Linked DNA regions of Homo sapiens: region 2 is linked to region 1. The links are contacts of gene promoters, found by promoter capture Hi-C in blood cells and fetal thymus (Javierre and others, 2016). All regions are on one chromosome and are shown on one strand. Each heading gives the region's core, a stretch centred on a gene start or on the middle of the fragment in contact. The rest is flanking DNA. Distances are from core to core; before and after follow the strand shown. Region 1 holds the start of PKHD1L1 (PKHD1 like 1). Region 2 overlaps PKHD1L1 (PKHD1 like 1).

Evidence for each region. Contacts are between HindIII fragments. The CHiCAGO score rates a contact against its expected background, and 5 or more counts as called.
Region 2: a fragment that was not itself captured here is called in contact with the fragment with the promoter of PKHD1L1 in region 1 in 1 of 17 cell types (megakaryocytes); the score reaches 5.9 in megakaryocytes.

Annotation. Positions count from the first base shown.
Region 1 is chr8:109,357,633-109,364,381 of GRCh38, forward strand. PKHD1L1 (PKHD1 like 1) reads left to right here and starts at 4,829. Exons shown (of 78, transcript NM_177531.6): 1 at 4,829-5,021. The coding sequence starts at 4,949. The HindIII fragment of the contact is 8,587 bases long and covers 3,724-6,749 here.
Region 2 is chr8:109,403,928-109,410,589 of GRCh38, forward strand. PKHD1L1 (PKHD1 like 1) reads left to right here. Exons shown (of 78, transcript NM_177531.6): 15 at 627-786; 16 at 1,068-1,203; 17 at 2,408-2,551; 18 at 4,122-4,279; 19 at 5,938-6,051. Among named protein-coding and RNA genes, the nearest start is that of PKHD1L1, 45 kb to the left of the region's middle. The HindIII fragment of the contact is 661 bases long and covers 4,644-5,304 here.

The DNA of each region.
Region 1 (6,749 bases), core at 3,579-6,078:
AGCACTTTTTATTACTTTAAACCTCAGGTAGACACAAGGTTTCAGCAGGAGTTCAGAAGCCATGCCCTTCTAGGAGTGTGAATAGTTTTGAGCGTGGAATTTCATGGCGTTTTGTGTCTATGCCTTACTACAAATAATCATTCTCATTTCTGATATTCACAGTTTTCACACAGTTATTTTTAAAATACACACTATATTCATGAAGGAGTAATCACAAATACCCATTTTACAACACACCAGGTACAAAAAAGGAATTTAAAGGAAATAAATAAGTAAATGAAAGAAACATTGACACTCACAGAAGGTACCAAACTTTGTAAAACCTTTGTTATGGCACAACATGTTAGCAATAATGAATGACTTTAACACACTTGAGCAATTGTCTCAACAGTCAAATATGTTTGACATTACCTGGGCTATGTAACTCCATGAAAATTTGCCAGTGGAGAGTTAATGATTTTTATTTGAACCATCCCATATTTGCACCCTTAAGCAATTAGAAACCTTTCATCTCCTTCCAGGCATTAAGCAACAAGGTTACATTGTTTGTTGTCTTCCTTGCTTTAGTATTTTCCGTCTAGCATTTATTAGTTTTGAACATGCTATGTATTTCACTAATTTTTGTATTTATTGTCTATCTCCACCAAGAATGTAAGCTCCACGAGGACAGAGATTTTTCTTAATCACTGCCATTTTCTTAATGCCTACAATACTGAATATATGTTAAAGGCAAACTATTGTTTTCCAAGTACCTAATTTTGTTCACCATCTTTCACTAATAGGTCTGGTTTTGAAATTAGGCCCGAGTTGAGTGATACATTCACAATTAAATTCCTTATTCCCTCTAGTTCTGCAAGAATTTCTATCAATCCCTTATCATTTTCTTATTGCTTTTAGGTCAAGGGACCAATAAGTTTAAAAACAGTCTCTTTTTTCACCATATGGGCCAGTAGAACAGACTACATAATTTGTGAGGTCTCATGCAAAATGAAAAGGGGAAGTCCCTTGCTCAAAAAATATTAAGGATCCCAAGATGACAGCAGAGTATTAAACCGAGTATGGGCCCTATGAGATTGCACAGGTCACACTCACTATCCTGGCCCTTTAGGCAGGGTTTTGTTAGAGCTAGATTTTTGAAAACCTGCAAAAGAAACGCGGGCTTTAATGATCAGGATTCTACTTTCATGTTTTCTCATGTCCATGATGAATCTATGTTGCAAAGGTTTGAAGATTGTAAAAATGAACACAAATTAAATCATAAATTACATCAACTACATAACTGCTTTTTCTGGATCCAAGTTGACATTTTGGTTATATGAATCTCCATCTAGTTACAATTATTTATTGGGACATTATCCCATCCAATTATTTTAATAATTGAAGACCAAAATTCTCACTGGTGTGATCTTTTTTAGGACATTTATTTATCATATAAATAAGCACTACTTAAAGGGAAAAATCAGTTAAAGATGCTCATTCATTCCACAAAAATTTATTAAAAATTTATATATGCAAATTATGGGGCTTTTTTTTTAGGCATTATAAGACAAGAAAGAAGGCTAATTTACCAGAAATCAACTTTCCTGAAGCTAATTGGTCCAATGATCATTTTGCTGAATGACTAATGTGCTAAATTTGCCAACTTAGATGACTGTAGTTTAATAGTATTTACTAGCTTTAATATGATTGTTTAATGTGAGTGACTAATGGTGATACATACAGAAAAACATTATATATATGTATAATATTGAATACATATGTACGTATATAATATGTATACCTAATACATACTTTATATATATTTTACTTATTCTAAGAAGACTAAGTGTGAAAGAAAGTGAAGCTATCTGAAAGAAACTAGTATAATAAACCATGCAATTAGTATGTGTTAAGTAGAAAAATAAAATAGGACACAATAGAAGTAACCAAATTATATTTTGGATGTTGCATGCCATTTGCTGGTTGATATACTATCTAAAAATTTGGTGAAAAAAATCTTTTAAAAGTTTGGCAAAACAGAAGTCAACATAAAAAATTTGAAGCACTTTATTGATACACTCAATACTTAAGAAAGTTTTCCTCTTTGTTATAAATTATATGAATTGTATCTGCAGGGAAGTCTGCCTAATTTAATGGTTTCTCATTAAAAATTACAACTTCAGTTTATAATATGGTAAGGATTCCCAACCCCCAGGCCGTGGACTGTTACCGTGGCGAAGTATATACTGTTACATACTTTACCTTTATAGGCACAATTTTCAGTAGCTGATGACATGGAGAGGGATTCCAAAAATTTATGAGATGAATATAACTAGATAGCAAAATTATTTACTTTTCTTTTTCAGTTCTTTTTTTCTTTCTTTCTTTTTTGGACACAAAGTCAGTCTCTGTCTCCCAAGCTGAAGTGCAGTGGCGCCATCATGGCTCAGTGCAGCTTCGACCTCTGGGACTCAAGTGATCTGCTCACCTCAGCCTCTTGAGTTTCTGGGACTACAGGAATGCACCACCATGCATGACTAATTTTTAAAAATTATTTACTTTTTAAATTTTTTATAGAGATGGGGGTCTCGCCTTGTTGCCCAGACTGAAAATTATTTTCTTAACCCCACTAGACAGATATAAACTCCTCAAGAATAAGGGCCTAACTTCACTTATTTTAGGATTCTTTCTTCTATTTCTTCTCTCTTCTTTCCCAACTAGAGTTGTCAGATTTAGTAAATAAAATTATGGAAAGCTGAGTTAAATTTGGATTTCAGATAAACTCTGAACAATTTTTAGCATATGTATGTTCTAAATCTTGCTTGGAAATACTTAAAACTGGAAAAAATAATTTGTTGCTTATTTTAATTTCAAATTTACCTGGGTGGCCTGTATTTTATCTGTCAACCTTACTCCCAACCTCTACCTTTCCTCCATCCCCCAGCAAGTACTTAGAACAGACCCTGGAACACAGATGGCCTTGTATGATAGATGAATGAGTAGGTGGACAGTGACCTTGAACAAGGAGTTTACTAAAACAGGCAACTCTTTCAAGAAGTTTAATAACAAGTAAACTAGAGAGTTTGCCTCAATTAAGAAGAAAAGAAAGGATTTTTGGTTTGTGTTTAGTTTTTTAGTAATGAATACTGTATATCTTTCTAGGAAAAGAGGAGAAAGGGGAAAGTGAAGTAATTAGAAGTGAGATAAGGGGGATATTGTTAGAATAATAATCAGTAAGATGGGAAGAGAAGAGTTTTCACAAAGAGTTCAAAGAGGGGATTGACCATGTCATGGAAGAAAAATACTTCTTCCCGAAAGAGAGGAACAAAAGGAAAGGAAGGAGGGAAGGAAGGAAGGAAGGGAGGGAATGAAAGAAAGAGAATTTAAAATTTTCTACTTATAAAAATTTTTAAACTAATAAAAAAGTGCAAAGGATCATACCTACACTTAAATTCAAACATTGTTTAAAATTTGCCAGATTTTTTTTCAGCAAAACCATTTTGAAGTAAATTCCAGACATAAAGACACTATGACCCCAAATACCTCATCATGCAATTCCATCACTTGAAAACACTCTTTGACTAAAGTATGATACCACTATTATACCTAATAAAATGAACGCTTCTATAATATCTTTCAATACTTGTTACTTAATCCATATTCACTTTCCCTAATTTGTTCTGCAAACGTCCTTCATAGCTTTATATTATTATTATTATTTTTTACAAACCAGGATCCAATAGAAGCTTATGCATTGCTATTTGGGTAATAATCTTTTAATATCTTTTAAAAACACATAACATTTTAAAATGTAGAAACTGCAAACTAGGTAGGTGGATCTTCTCATCTTTTTTTGTTGTTTGTTTTTGAGACGGAGTCTCACTATGTCGCCCAGGTTGGAGTGCAGGGGTGTGATCTCAGCTCACTGCAACCTCCGCCTCCCGGCTTCAAGCAATTCTCCTGCCTCAGCATCCCAAGTAGCTAGGATTACAAGGCATGCGCCACCCCACCAGGCTAATTTTTGTATTTTTAGTAGAGATGGTGTTTCACCATGTCAGCCAGTCTGGTCTCGAACTCTTGACCTCAAGCGATCCGCCCACCTCGGCCTCCCAAAGTGGTGGAATTACAGGCGTGAGCCGCTGTGCCCAGCCCCTTCTCACCTTTTAAAGAGTAGGGAGAGGTGGGCAATCAAGAGATCCTGAGGTTAAGATATTAAGAACAGTGAGAGGATTTGGAATTAGCCCCTGGGGAGCATTCAGTGGTGAATAATAAACTGCCTTCTCCAGGGAGGTCAGAGAAACTTGCGTTTCATTCGTCTGCTATCTGGCATCCCAGAAACAGGTCAGCAGTGCTGGACCTCCCTCCATGCCAACAGTAAGCCTTCGCCCTAAGTCTACTGATTGTCAATTAAAGAGAGAGCACAATCTCATATGAATGTGAAGGGGTAAACACGCGTGGGGTTTGTGTATTAGGTGGTCTTATAGGCCCACCTGGGGAGGATTAATGACCAAGGCAGACAGGCAGATGAAAGTACGCGGGGAAAGAGAGAAAAGAAAAGAAAAGAAAAAAAACAAAAAGAAAATAGAGAAGGAGACCTAGGGAGACCTCAATGACCATTGATTCCTTTCGCCAAAAGGAGTAAGGCCCTTCCACCTATGGGGACAGCCTTGGGAAGGCAGCACCCAGGTTTGAGTGTGGAGGTTTGATTATCACGGACTGGCTCGGGGCCGGCTTGGTTCTCCCGCGAAGGTTCCAGGGTGTGTGTGTGTGTGTGTGTCCGCGCGCGCATGCAAATCCCAGAGGAGCAGCCCGACAGCAGGGGCGGGGCAGGCCACGGGAGGGCGGCCCAGTTCCCCAGCTCTCCCGGGACGAAGCGGGCCCGCCAGCGAGTCGCAGTCCCAGGAGCCGAGCTCCAGCACTAGAGCCAGCTGCGAGCGGAGGGCACCAACTCCGCAGAACTGGCTTTTCAATGGGACACCTGTGGCTCCTGGGTATTTGGGGCCTCTGTGGGCTGCTCCTGTGTGCCGCGGATCCCAGCACAGGTAACCCTTTGGGCACGCTAGGCAGGCAAGCAGGAGAGGCCCGCGTAGACACTACCCCTGCTCCCGGGGTCCTGGGAGAGGCAGGACCACCTGGCACCTGGCTGAGGCTGTGGGTGCGGTTGCATGACGATCCTGGGGACCAGGGGAGCTGGATAGCAGGCCTAGCAAACAGAGACAGACGCAGAGAGAGAGAAACAGAGACAAGGACACAGAGAAAGAGATTGCGAGAGATTGCCTTTTAACTCATCAATGCTGCTACTTGAATGATGAAATCTCCCACCGGCACCCACAAAGTGACACAAGTAGACTGAAATTTGGCGGGGGAGTGGGGACTGGGAAGAGGCAACCTGAGTCCCTTTTCCTCCATTCTTCTTGGGTCGCTTTCCTCACAACAGAAAGGGCAACAACCCCCAGTAGGACGGGGATGGGACTTCGTGGCAGGTGTCAGTCATTTCCAGGGGCAGCTGCCCTGTGTTTTCAAAGTAATACCCAGAAGAGGGCTGGGAAGAGACTGATAAGATAAGAAATTGGAGTTGTCTGTGGAGATAACAGGAGGATGAACCTGAGATAGGCGAGGAGCAGCACTGTCTGGAGATAGGATCCAGCTTCCCCGCTGGAGTTTCCTACTCTTGGGCTGCCCTGAGATATGAATGTGCGGGAATAAGAACACCTTGGAGCTCTTGGCAAAGACAGACCCGAGGTACAGAGGCACTGGGTCTGGGGCCTCGGAACTGGTCTCCTTTATGTTGGAGAGCTTTTGCTACTATAGGTGAAGTCCACTCTAAACCTTTTTAAGACAGAACTGAACAAGCCAATCATAATTCCCTTAGCCTTTTTATATACATCCATTTTGAGAAATTAATAATTTCTGTGGCCTTTCTTTGTATCATCCCTTAAATTTTTCTACCTACTGTGAAAATTTCTTTTAGGATTCCAGCAATTACTAGATCTGTACAGTGTAAGCAGAAAATAAACACCTCTATCCACTGTGTAGCTTTGAGTTGTTTTAAAGAATTATTTGCAATACTCCAAAGAAGCAGCTCACACAATCCTGTTTGCCCGGGCAGTTCCCTCTATCTAGAACTATCTTTATCTTTCTGACAACTGGTCCAGTCTAATTCATATTTGTCCTTAAAAATGTGGAAGGGGCATGTCTTCTTTATAGAAGCCAGTGTGACACAAGCAGCGTGGGTGAAATGCTCCTTGAGGCACCCGTGGCCTCTATGCTCTCCTCTGTCTCTTGGTACTGTCTAACCTAAGCCTTTGGAAAGTTAGGACTGTTACACATTTATGTATCTCCAGGAAGCTAACACAGTTTGTTGAATGAATTAGTGACCTTTATATTAAGAACTCACTATCATCAGGAGGCTAGAAGAATCTCAGAAATTATCTTTCCTGAAGCCACACTCCCTCACAGAAAATAATTTCTTCTCAAAACCAACATTTCTCTTTGTACCTGGTCTAGTCTTTCAAACTACCTAGCATTGCATTTCTTCTGTGCTCTTATAATGACCTATTTCTTCTTGGTGTCTGCTGTTAGGTGAGCTGTTAAGCATAGTTATAGATCTGCAGTTAGCAGAGCACTACATGAAATTAAGGATTTAATACGTGTTTTATAATATGATAGGTAAGTGATGAAAATGATCACGTGTTATTTTTGCTCTTGGTAGCACCTAAGATAGTGCTTTGCACAAAGCCAGTGGGTATTAACTAAGTTAATGACTCTGT
Region 2 (6,662 bases), core at 3,724-6,223, 46 kb after region 1:
AGGCACTACCTTGGGTACACAGTAGGATGAGGGGCAGGAGACATCAAGAATCAGGAATTCAAAATATAAAGTGAAAATCCCATCCAGCTAATTGGAGGATCATAGTAAATCTGACCGGTAAAAGTTTCCTGAGGCAATGTTTTATTCCCCAAGTTACAAATGGAGCCAAATTTAAGGAATGTGAAAGTAGGAACTTCTACTCCTGACAAATATAACTACTCAGATATAAAATATATGCTATGTCTAAGCCTGCCATTTTCTTGAACACATTAAAATATTTAACCTCTGCATGTTGTCTGTGTTATATACCAGGGACAGGGTTATTTTTCAAGATGTTGAGTATAAGAAATAGTATTGTCTTCTATAAATATTTATTGACTAAGCTGAATGAATTGGTTATGAATGAGAACAACTTTCTACTAATGCAGATATCTTACATAATTCATTTTATTTTGGCAAAATGCTGTGAAAATTTTAACATTTGAATATTTAAAATATGAGATACTACAATATAAGTCATTTAACAGGCAGGCTTTTAAGATAATATTGATATTTTATTCATTAAAATAATTTCATGGCAAGTGTTCTGGAAAAAAGTTATATTCATTAGTTACTCTATTTTCCAGATACTATATTGAAATCTTGCTGCAGGAGTACAGATTAAGTGCATTTGTTGATGTTGGACTGTACCAGTATCGAAATGTTTATACTGAACAACAAACAGGAGATGCAGTGAATGAAGAACAAGTTATCAAATCCCAGTCGACAATCCTCCAGGAAGTACAGGTTTGCTATGATTGCAGTTCCTCTTACAGAAAGTAAATGTTCGAAGGCAGGATCTCAATTTGATTATTAATTTTACTAGGTAAGATACTGTTTTAGGTGAAAGCAGTCATGGACAATTATTAAATTATGACTTTGAGTATTTGTACGATAAGCCAAAAAGGCTGTTACTTGTCATTTGTAGTAAAATAGAGCAATAAAGTGGCATTGAATAGCTGAATTATGATGCTTTTAAGATATATATATTTTTCATATATTAAAAATGTTTCTTAATTGGAAAATAGGTTATAACATTGGAAAACTGGGAAACAACTAATGCAATTAATGAGGTTCAGAAGATCAAGGTAACCAGCCCATGTGTGGAAGCTAATTCATGTTCACTTTACCAATATAGATTAATCTATAATATGGAAAAAACTGGTAAGTTATAAATAATAAGGGAGATACTGTTTCTGTTCATGTATAGATGTAGTCATAAAGTATTTGCTGTAGTCAAATTACACTGTCTGGAAAATATAGTTTTGATGATATGCTAGACAAAGAAGCAGAAAAATGTATTATGGAAAAAAGCCTTCAGACTGGGATAGAAAATGACATCCATACAAATAACTTTGTGGCATATACCATCATTTTCTAATAATAATGATAAATATATATCTAAATGCACATGGAATTTATATATTTGCTACTCATAGGTGTAAGTTAAGAAAATAGGAATTGTGAATAGTCAACCCAAATGCCCGTCAATGATAGACTGGATAAAGAAAATGTGGTACACCATAGAATACTATGCAGCCATAAAAAGGGATGAGATCATGTCCTTTTCAGGGACATGGATGGAGCTTAAAGCCACTTCCTCAACAAACTAACTCAGGAACAGAAAACCAAACACTGCATGTTCTCACTTATAAGTGGGAGCTGAACAATGAGAACACATGGACACAGGGAGGGGAACAACACACACTGGGGCCTGTTGGGGGGTGGGGTCGGCACGGGGAGGGCATTAGGTTAGGAAAAATAGCTAATGCATACTGGGCTTAATACCTAGGTGATGATGGGTTGATAGGTGCAGCAAACCACCATGACATACGTTTACCTATGTAACAAACATGCACATCCTGCACATGTACCCCAGAACTTACAATAAAAATAAAAAATTTAAAAGGAATTAAATTCATCATTGCACAGAAGTAAACATGTCTTTCAATTTTTTAAATTAAATGATAGGCCTATGGAACACCAATTTATCAGCCAATAAACAACATTGCATTTCTATATTTTACAATAAATCCTAAAATACAACTTTTGCTACTACTGTTAATTGTTTTAACCAGTAAATATTGATGATTGCTTATTCTTTGCCAAATCCAATGATTATTACTGTGGGAATATTAAAACAATAAAATATCAGCCCTGTCCTCAAAGAGATCACAAATTAATTAAATAGTCAATATTACTGAACTTGAATCAGTTTCAAAATACAATTTCTCTAAGTGATAACTTACATGGTACAGAGTATAGGTGCTTTAAAAATATAAATACGAGACATCAGTGTTGGCTGCAGTAGCTCAGAAAGATTTCAACTTTTCTGTTTGTTTGTTTGTTTGTTTTAATCCAATCAAAGTCTTCCTACCTGCTGATGCTTCTGAATTCATACTGCAATCAGCCTTGAATGACCTCTGGTCTATAAAACCGGACACAGTTCAAGTAATAAGAACACAAAATCCCCAGAGCTATGTCTACATGGTAACATTCATATCAACTAGAGGTAAGCATGTACTTAATTTTGTACTTCTGTAGGAAACAAATGTATATCCTGTGCCACTCTAAAAGTTCCATAAGATGACAGAGAAAAAGACTTGGTTAATCTTAGGAGAAGCAGAAATTAAATGGTTTTTTCTACGGTAATTTAAATTTTAGTTGTATTTCAAGGAATGTACAACTCTAATGCATGAGAAATGCACTATACATACTACAAATGCGTTTTCCATATAATAGCCTACTTTATAAATTAGTAAAAACTAGTGAAAATATTCATTCTGAAAATAAAATTTAGGCAAATCACTATTGTCCAGGAGACACTCATCTGGTCAAATCTTGCCTACTGAAAGGATTTTGAGGTCAAATTCACATGGGAGACACTGTATACCATGGGTCTTCCTTGAAGATTGACAGAGCTCATTGGAATATTAAAATCCCTGAGGAGTCCTGCAGTATTAAAAAAAAAAGGAAAAAGAAAAAAATCAATTTACCTGTGTTTAATGCAAACGTATTTTATATTTCCATCTTTTTTCAAGTAATAGCTATTAACCGCCTATTAATGTTTTACACAAAACACTTTTGGAAATATTGACATAGACATTCTGCCTTCAAGTCAGACTTCGCAACTAATTTGGCTTTTTGGTATATTTAGCTCAGAAAGTAGGTCCCTGAATGTGTGTGTGTTTACTTTTCTTTGGGCAATCATTGTTTTTCAATATGTAAGTAAAATGTTACTTCAATATTTATGTCTCACTTTATGTAATTGTTTATTTGATTGTTGAGTGGAGGATAAAGAATTTGATTTTACATGAATTTAAGTTTTAAAAAGTGTACAAAAGTTAGATTGTCAAAATACTTATGAATAAACATATGGATATCCTTTTTGATGTATTTTTATACATCAGAGAGAAATTTTAAGGCTTCAGCAGAAACCTTAAGAAATATGGTGCCCAAATCCTAACTGGGCAAATTTTAAGACTTTACCCAACAAAAAGGGTCAAAAAGATCAATGAGATTCCACTGGTAGAGCATCCTTTCAAAGAAGAGAGACATTTGAGGACAGGCCTTATTCCTCTCAAAGTGGCAAAGCCAATGATTATCATACTAAGTGGCATGGTATGAACAAACCTCACAGATCAGAGATTGTTTCCTGGAATTCAGCTTTGTGCCCTATTCATGTCTAAAGAAAATAGAAATATTCCAGCTGAGCATTTGCACTAAAATAATGGTACTAGCACAAAACTAAAAGAATTTTTGGAATATCCTACTACTCATTGATCTTTATTCATGGTCCTAATACATCTGTCTATCTTACAATACTTCCTTTTAAGCTATAGAAACAGCACCTTAAATATATAGCACTTTGTCTGCTTTGCTATTTATGCTATGGATAAATCTGCTCAAATTTTAAGGATCTACATCGCCCCCATTCTTCCTTCTTTTCTGATAATGGAGCACCAAATGAAACCAATTTGGCTACATTTGAGTGTCTATTAAATATATATAAAATATATAGTTTTATATATAGGCATTTTATTAGTTAATGTCTACAAATTCTGTTTGTCACTTAATTTCAGGAGACTTTGATCTGCTTGGTTATGAAGTAGTTGAAGGGAATAATGTCACACTGGATATTACAGAACAAACCAAAGGAAAACCCAACTTGGAGACATTCACACTGAATTGGGATGGGATCGCTTCTAAGCCACTCACTCTATGGTCATCAGAAGCTGAAGTACGGTGTAGGAATGTTTCTACCACGCATTTTCCCTGCACCCTCTCACATCATTCATGGGCCATTTGTAGACAGATGGGAAAGAGATGTTACTTCAAAAAAAATCACTGCAAATTATTTATCACCTGATCAACTCACCACAATTTATATACTGTGATACTTTTATCTGAAAGGAGACTAAGAGTCAACCTAGTGCAGCCACCTCTTTTTCCAGACAAGGCATATCTCAAAGGTTCCAAAGCCTTGCCCTGCCTATGTGTAGAAGCTTTGAGTCCCTCTATGCACACTGGAGTTGTTCTTCACTCAACATCCAATTTGTTATCCTGTAAAATCAGAAATTCCTTGAGAGATGTAGTGCAATAAAAGCTTAGCTATAAAGTATTGGTTAGTTTAAATATCCTATTATTTTATTGATGTATTTTTATACATCAGAGAGAAATTTTAAGGCTTCAGCAGAGACCTTAAGAAATATGGTACCCAAATCCTAACTCAGCAAATTTTAAGACTTTACCCAACAAAAAGGGTCAAAAAGATCAATGAGATTCCACTAGTGGAGCATCCTTTCAAAGAGGAGAGACGTTTAAACAGAACACCATTTAAATGTCAACCTTTTATAAAGAACACTTTAAGGAGGAGTAATACATTCTTCCATTTGGCGTGATAGGTTGGAGCCTACCCGTAGTGAGGAGAGAAGGGAGGAAATATTCCAAAGACAAGAGAAGGAAAGGGAAGATCTTAGGTCTGTGCCAACAGGGCCTAATGTATCTCCATAGGGGGCAGCCATTCATAAAGAAAGAATGCTTGTGAGTTACAACATTTTGACAACTATCTGGACAATGAATTTAAGTTAAAATCTGTTTGCAGATTAAAGAGTATATATTGTCTCAAGCCCTTAATTCTAAGCGACAATTATTTCTGTGCTTTGCTGGAGAAAATGATATGGAAATTTTAGGAGACTTGTGAATATGTACTAATTTCTGCATAATCTGCAATAATTTATTATTTTTTGAATAATTATAAATACAAGCTTACAGTATATGCATGTAACCTTTTTTTTTTTCAAGACGGAGTCTCACTCTGTCACCAGGCTGGAATGCAGTGGTGTGATCTCCACTCACTGCAACCCTCCACCTCCTGGGTTCAAGCGATTCTCCTGCCTCAGCCTCCTGAGTAGCTGGGACTACAGGCGCTTGCCACATGCCCAGCTAATTTTTATATTTTTAAAAGAGACAGGGTTTCACCATGTTGGCCAGAATCCATTGGCGTGTATAGTTTTTTTTTTCCAGTTAATTTTGAGTTATTTGGAAAAAGTATTTATTTGGAATCTATCTAATTGGGTACTAATTAATTTAGGTTTGCTTCATTGCTCTCTTTAAAAAGGTACTAAACAAATATGTCTGCCTTATAACTAAGTATGCTATTATTAGCCAATTGTATGTAACTATTGTTATTCTAGAATAAAAGTCTTGAAAACTCATTAGACACTAAAATTATCACACTAACTTAAAATTATTTAGAAAATTAACTCATAATCATGACTAAAATATGGGAATTATGAAAATGTCCTATTAAAACTAATTAGTAGAATCAGTAGTAGGATTACGAGTGTTCTAACTTTTCATGAAAAGAAGTTACTAATGTTTATATTGTTAATTTAGTTTCAGGGAGCAGTGGAAGAAATGGTTAGCACTAAGTGTCCACCACAAATTGCAAATTTTGAAGAAGGATTTGTTGTGAAATATTTCAGAGACTATGAAACTGATTTTAATCTGGTATGAAATATTTAATGAACTGTGAAACTGACCTAATAAGAATTTATATAATGGTTTTAAATTTTATAATTTCTCTTCTGAAGTAGCATTAATAACTTTGTTATTCACAGTCAAATTGCAAAAATGACTTTGTTATACATTTGTTGTAAGGGCTGTTGGTAGGTGCTATTGGTACTGCCGTCTATGATTCGTTTGTTAAAAAATTTTTACTACTCATGAATTTTCTTGCTAGAAAGTAGGAAAGCTGATCAAAGGTAAGATTTGCAGTGTTTTTGTTTATTTTGTGTATAGGCCATTGTTGCGTTGCTATAAAGAAATACCTTAGACTGGGTAATTTAGAAAGAAAAGAGGTTTAATTGGCTCACAGTTCTGTAGGCTGTACAGGAAGCATGATGCTGGCATCTGCTCGACATCTTGGAAGGCCTTGGGAAACTCTCAATCATGGTGAAGGCAAAGGGGGAACAGGCACGTCACTTGGCTTGGTGAAGAGCAAGAGAAGAGAGTGGGGCGGTGCCACCCACTTTTAAACAACCAGACCTTGTGAAAACTCACTCACTATCATGAGAACAGCACCGATGGGATGGTGCTAAGCCATTCATGAGAAATCCACC